Linked DNA regions of Homo sapiens: region 1 is linked to region 2. Evidence: promoter capture Hi-C in 16 types of primary human blood cells and fetal thymus (Javierre and others, 2016). All regions are on one chromosome and are shown on one strand. The core of a region is centred on a gene start or on the middle of the fragment in contact, and the rest is flanking DNA. Distances in the headings are between cores, read along the strand shown.

Evidence for each region. Contacts are between HindIII fragments. The CHiCAGO score rates a contact against its expected background, and 5 or more counts as called.
Region 1: a contact is called between a fragment that was not itself captured here and the fragment with the promoter of ALKBH2 in region 2, in 2 of 17 cell types (M0 macrophages and M2 macrophages). The highest score is 7.1, in M0 macrophages.

Annotation. Positions count from the first base shown.
Region 1 is chr12:108,819,392-108,822,381 of GRCh38, forward strand. The region is part of intron 3 of SSH1 (slingshot protein phosphatase 1); the gene reads right to left. Among named protein-coding and RNA genes, the nearest start is that of MIR619, 16 kb to the right of the region's middle. RefSeq lists an enhancer at 2,596-2,645. The HindIII fragment of the contact is 5,107 bases long and covers 1-2,990 here.
Region 2 is chr12:109,091,633-109,094,797 of GRCh38, forward strand. It overlaps ALKBH2 (alkB homolog 2, alpha-ketoglutarate dependent dioxygenase), which reads right to left and starts at 1,840. Exons shown (of 4, transcript NM_001145374.2): 1 at 1,615-1,840; 2 at 875-1,305. The coding sequence starts at 1,154. The HindIII fragment of the contact is 3,285 bases long and covers 500-3,165 here.

The sequences.
Region 1 (2,990 bases), core at 245-2,744, 270 kb before region 2:
ACTTTCACGGAGGGGAAAGTTGTAAGGGAGGTGCATAATTAGTAAGTAGCAGGTGTGACTCCAAGGTTGCTTTTTTTCTCTAGCTTACACATTTTTCTTTATATCTGCAAGGATTTCTTTCTGAAGAAAGGGTCATCTGTAGAGATGCTAATATCAGCCTGGTGTGGTGGCTCACACCTGTAATCCCAGTGCTTTGGGAGGCCGAGGCAGGAGACTCACTTGAGGCCAGGCATTCAAGACCAGTCTGGGCAACATGGCAAGACCCCATCTCTACAGAAAAGTAAAAAATTAGCTGGGCTTTCTGGTTCACATCTGTAGTCCCAGCTACTTGGGAGGCCAAGGCAGGAGGATCGCTGGAGCCCAGGAGTTTGAGATCACCCTGGGCAACACGATAAGACCCTGTCTCTACAAAGGAAAAAAAATTACTCTATACATCACAATTACAACCCCAAAAGGATCAATAATGCTTACACACTCAAATGCTCCAAAAGGAAACATTGTGTTTGTTCCTTTTGCAAAAGCATCTTTTTCATTTTAAGGGAGAAGGACAGATGATGTCCAAATTGCACTTCCTGTCTCAGAGAGGAATTGGGTCATTAGAAATTTGTGCCTCTAGCCAGGAGGGTAGATCTCATGTTAAGCGTTCTTTCTTTTTCTTTTTTTTTCAATAGAGACAGGGTTTTGCCATGTTGCCCAGGCTGGTCTCGAACTCCTGGACTCAAATGATCCTCTCACCTCAGCCTCCCAAAGTGCTGGGATTATAGGCATGAGCCACCAAACCCAGGCCAATTAAGCATTCTTTCCACAATAAGTAAAATTTAAAAAAGAAAAGAACCATGCCCCTCTTATCTGTCCTCTCCAGTTATACAATTCCACAGTGTATAACACCCTGTGTTGACCCTGCTTCCTATGATGAGCGATTTGGAGATAAGGGTTCACATTAAAGAAAGCCATAGACCTCCCCAGCCCCTTCCTCCACCCGTCATGTCACCAATGCAACACAACGACAACGACCATGAGCTGGTTCTTCACCTGCCTGGGCCCTCCCACCATCTACCCGAGTCACAGAACTGCATTGGGGAAAGCAAAAACAAACCCCTGTCTGATAAATGCCTAAATGAAAGGGACATTTTCCACACAGATAAACTTCTTTCAGTGGGATTGTTTGCTGAGATATGGAACTGCTGACAGACAGAAATCCAAACCCCAGTCTGACATCCACACACAAAAAAATCAGAGAATATAAGCCCTAGAAAGGGTCTCAAATTGACTGGACTGGCTGAAACAAACTGAACTACTTTTCCAAGGACAGAATTAACCCTCAATTGTACTCAGCTCTGCACAGTGGTTACTGGGGGGCCTCTGGTACATTCAGGAGACTTGATGGTAATTCTAGGGAAAAAAAGGAACTAACGTAAGTCTAGTCTGCGTCTGTCCCAAGGTCATTTACAGACCAACTGTGGACAGCTGGCGGCCCCTCTGCCTTCCGACCTCATCGTCCACTCCAGACCTCAGGGCACAAGAGTCAGCCAGCTGGTGGCTTGCATCCTACCCTTCTAGTCTTTGGATTAGAGGAAGGAGGTATCTGACACTTAGTGAGCAGAGCTTGAGCATTTGCTTTGTCATATGTGTTACAATTAAAACATGAACAACAGCTACATTTCTAAGAGGGCAGAATAATTAGCAAATTCAAGAACGAAGAATCTGGCTGAGTATGGCACCTCAAACCTATAATCCCAATGCTTTGAGAGGCTGAGGTGGGGAGATGGCTTGAGGCCAGGAGTTGGAGACCAGCCTGAGCAACATAGTGAGTGAGACCTCATCTACACACACACACACACACACACACACAACTAGCTGGGTGTGGTGACACGCATCTATGGTCCCAGCTACTCAGGAAGCTAAGGCTGGACAATCACTTGAGCCCAGGAGGTCGAGGCTGCAGTGAGCTATGATCAGGCCACTGCACGCCAGCCTGGGCAAGAGAATGAGATCCGTCTCTAAAAAAACTTTTCATATAATTAAAAAAAAAAAAAGAATGAAGGGTCTGTTTATAGCTGTATTGTACTAGAAGTCATCGTAATAACAATGATAGTTACCCATATATATATACAGCACCTACTACAGGTAGGTATGTTACACGCATAACTCTAAATTTCCATATTGTCTGAGGCACCAGTATTTGATGCCCATTGTAAAGACTAGGAAACTGAGGCTTAGAAGTCGACCTGTTACGGCTTAGTAAGTTGGAGAACTAGGATCAGAAGACAGGTCTGCCTGGCTTCAAAACAAATACTATTTCCACAAACCACACTGCCTCCTTGTACAGGACAGTTATTTTCTTTGCTTAAAACAGACCTAAATATCATCAACATCAGTATGTGAAAATACTGACTGAGCCTTGGTGTTTGCTATAAATTGCATGGTGTAGAATTCTAACCTGAGCACTCAGATCTAAAATGAAGCTGAATGACTTGAGGTTAAACAAACAAAATGTTCACAAGAAAACTGGCCACAATAGCTGGTTGGTTTCACCTGCTGCTGTTCTGAAAGGTAAAGGCCTTCTCAGCTCACAGACATTCAATTATGCACTGCCTCTCCAAGAAATGCCCTGAGATGCTGTCCACCTACGACAAAGATCCACTTACATGCAAGCACTTTTTCCTCTTTCTTTCTTTTTGAGATAGGGTCCTTTTCTTTTGTCACCCAGGCTGGAGTGCAGTGGCGCAATCGTGGCTCACTGAGCAACACAGTGAGCAACATAGTGAGACCTCATTTACATACACACCCACAAAAAACTAGCTGGCTGTGGTGACACATCAGCCTCGACCTCCTGGGCTCAAGCAATCCTCCCACCTCAGCCCCCAACCTTGCTGGGATTACAGGCATGCGCCACCACGCCCAGCTAATTTTTGTATTTTTTGCAGAGATAGGGTTTCACTGTGTTGTTCGGGTTAGTCTGGAACTCCTGGGTTCAAGCGAGATCTGCC
Region 2 (3,165 bases), core at 590-3,089:
TTTCAAGTGATTGTCCTGCCTCAGCCTCTCAAGTAGCTGGGACTACAGGCATGCACCACTACGCACAGCTCATTTTTTGTTGTTGTTGTTGTATTTTAGTAGAGATAGGGTTTCACCATATTGGCCAAGCTGGTCTCGAACTCCTGACCTCAAGTGATTCGCCCGTCTCGGGCTCCCAAAGTGCTGGGATTACAGGCGCGAGCCACCACGCCTAGCTTCCTGTGGGCTTTTCTATGCCTCTCTGCCAGATCCTTGTGTCCTCATTACAGGATAGAGGTGTGGTTCTCAACATGTGCTCCCCAGACCAGCAGCACCTGGACTCTCCTTAGAAACTAAACTAAACCACAGGGGTAGGGTCCAGCAATCCAAGTCCTGCCAACAGCAAGTCCACCAGGTGATGCTGAGAACCACTGGTGTGGAGAAATTACCTGGTTATTTGCCATCTCTCCTATGAGACCAGTGATTCTCAAACCCTGACTGCCCATGAGAATCACCTGGAAGCTTTTTAAACAAACAAGTGGTCAGCCTGCACTCGGAGCGATTCTGATTGAAGTGCTCTGCAGTAGAACCCAGCACGTTTTTTTACTTTGTTTTGTAAACTTTCCCAGAAGATACTCATCAGTAGCCAAGGAGAGATTCACTCGAGTCATCTGTCAGCTCCTAGTAGACAGGCAATCCAGTTTCTTTCAAGTTTATGTCCCAAGCACCTAAGGGGCTTAGCCCAGAGGTGCTCAGAGAATATTGGATGAATCCATTAGTGAACCCATCAGTAAATAATGGATCCTGAGTTCAGATTTCTCCAAACATACGATCATTAATTGCACCAAACAAGCCCTCAATGCACACACACACACACACACACCCCTCTGCTTACCTGTAAAATATTCTACTTCTTTCTCCAACTCTTGGAAAATCTCATCTGCCTCAGCTTTGCCAAACAGGACTGTGTAACTGCAGTCCAGGCCCTCAGCCCGAATGTGCCGCCAGCTAGGGCCTGCTGAGTGGCCTCCATTCCCTGGGGCCTCTCTCCTGGGCCTCTTCCTTGTGCTTTCTTTGTCTCCTCCCAACACAGCTGGCTCTTCTCCAGTTGGCTCTTGCTCCTCCTGCTTCCTCAAAAGGCCCCCTTGAGCCCCTTTCACCAGGAATCTGTCCATCCTGTCCCCACAGGAAAGAAGGGACGTCAGTGGCGAGGCCAAGACAGAAATTGCTCAAGTTCTATCCCCAGTGCAAAAATCTGTTTGTCCAAGGGGTCTCACAGCAACATTCCTAGTTTCACATTTTCATTTTAAAGTTTAAAACCATGTCCTAGAAAGGAAACAGAAGATGTTAAAGCCGGAAGGGACCCTAGGGACAATCTGATCCAGGGTCTCCCACGTCCACCTGTGCATCAGAATCAGCTGGCTAGCTTGCAAAAACCCAGAGGTCTGCACTCCACGCCTGAGCACCTGAATTTTTAAAGAACTACCTCCTGGGAATTCGCACGCCACAGCTAAACTTAGAAACTACAATCCAAACCCTCATTTTGCAGAAGGGGAAACTGTTGCCCACAGAGGCGAAGAGGTTTGCCCAAAGTCAACTGTCCACCCCTTTAAGGAGGAAGGACCCATAACTGACCTCGCTGCCCCCCACCAGTGTTAAAATAGATCAGTCTAGTGATGCTCAAGTGGATACGATTCAGAAGCGAGACGCAAAGAGGTTAAACACGGGTAAACCGCACGCAAAATTCTGATATCACTGCAACACGTCCGTGGGGTGGGGGTGGCAAGAGTGCTCTAGCATCGCAGCTCCGGCGCAGATCGGAATCCCGCAGTCACCCTGGTGGCCTCGTGGTGGGAAAGACGCGCCCCAGCGAATCGGTCGCGTCACTTCCGGAGCACGCTGGGAACTACGGCAGGCTAGGGCGCAAAGAGAGCAGCCGGGCGGCCCCCTGGTGCCACCTGCTGGCCTCCCGTGTGTGGCAAGCACTGCCGCTTTCCCGTTGATCACCTGTTGGGCCACTGTCGAGAATCACGGCTGGGGTGAGAACTGTGGCTTGGCGTCACTTCTCAGTGAGGGTTACTTTGGTGTCCGGAAAGGGCGTTGGGCCACCAGTATATTGTCACGAGTGGGAGCAGGAGTTCTGCAGTCGGATATCGTGGATTCTGTTTCTGTCTCCTCCGCCCTGGCTGTGTGGCCTCCCACAGGTCACTTAACCTCTCTGGGGTTAAGTTGCCTCATCTGTGAAGTGCGGACTACAGCACCTATGTCATGAGAGCGCCTGAGGAGATGACAGGATGCATGAGAAATGCTCTGTCCTCTAAATAAATGTTGGTTCCATTATTGCTCGTTTTTCTTTGTTTTCTTGTTTTTTGATGTTGTTCTTGTTTGTTTTGTTTTTTTGAGACAGGATCTCACTCTGTTGCCCAAGCTGGAATGCAATGGCATGATCATAGCTCACTGCAGCCTTGAACTCCTGGGTTAGAGCGATCCTCCCGTCTCAGCCTCTGGAGTAGCTGGGACTACAGGCACATCCCACCCCACCCTAAATAATTTTTTTATTATTTTTAGTAGAGATAGGGCCTTGCTATGTTGCCCAGGCTGGTCTCAAGCTCCTGGGCTCAAGTGATCCTCCCACCTGGGCCTCCCAAATTGTTGGGATTACAGGCGTGAGCCACCACGACCGGCTCCTAATTTTTATTTACTCTGTCTCCCCTCAATGGAACGAAAGCTCCATGAGATCAGAGGCTTTGTTTTGACAGATTTCAACAAATGTACAATATTGTATGATCACCACCACAATCAAGATCTAAGACAGTTCCGTCCCTCCATAAAACTGCTCCAGCCTCTTAATCAACTTCGCCCATCACCCAGCATCAGCAACCACTGATCTGTCTTCTCTCCCTATAGTTTTGCCTTTTCCAGAATTTCATATACAGGGAATTGCCGTGGTTTGAATATCTGTTCCTCCAAAATCCGCGTTGAAATTTAATCCTCAGTGTGGCAGTATTGAGAGGTGGGGCCTTGAAGAGGTGATTGGGACATGAGAGCTCTGTCATAATGTCCTCATAAATGAATTAATAGATTAATGGGCTCAGGGGTTAATGGGTTAATGGGTTACCGTGGGAGTGGGACTGGTGGCTTTATAAAAGGAAGAAGAGAGACCTGAGCTAGCACACTCAGGCCCCT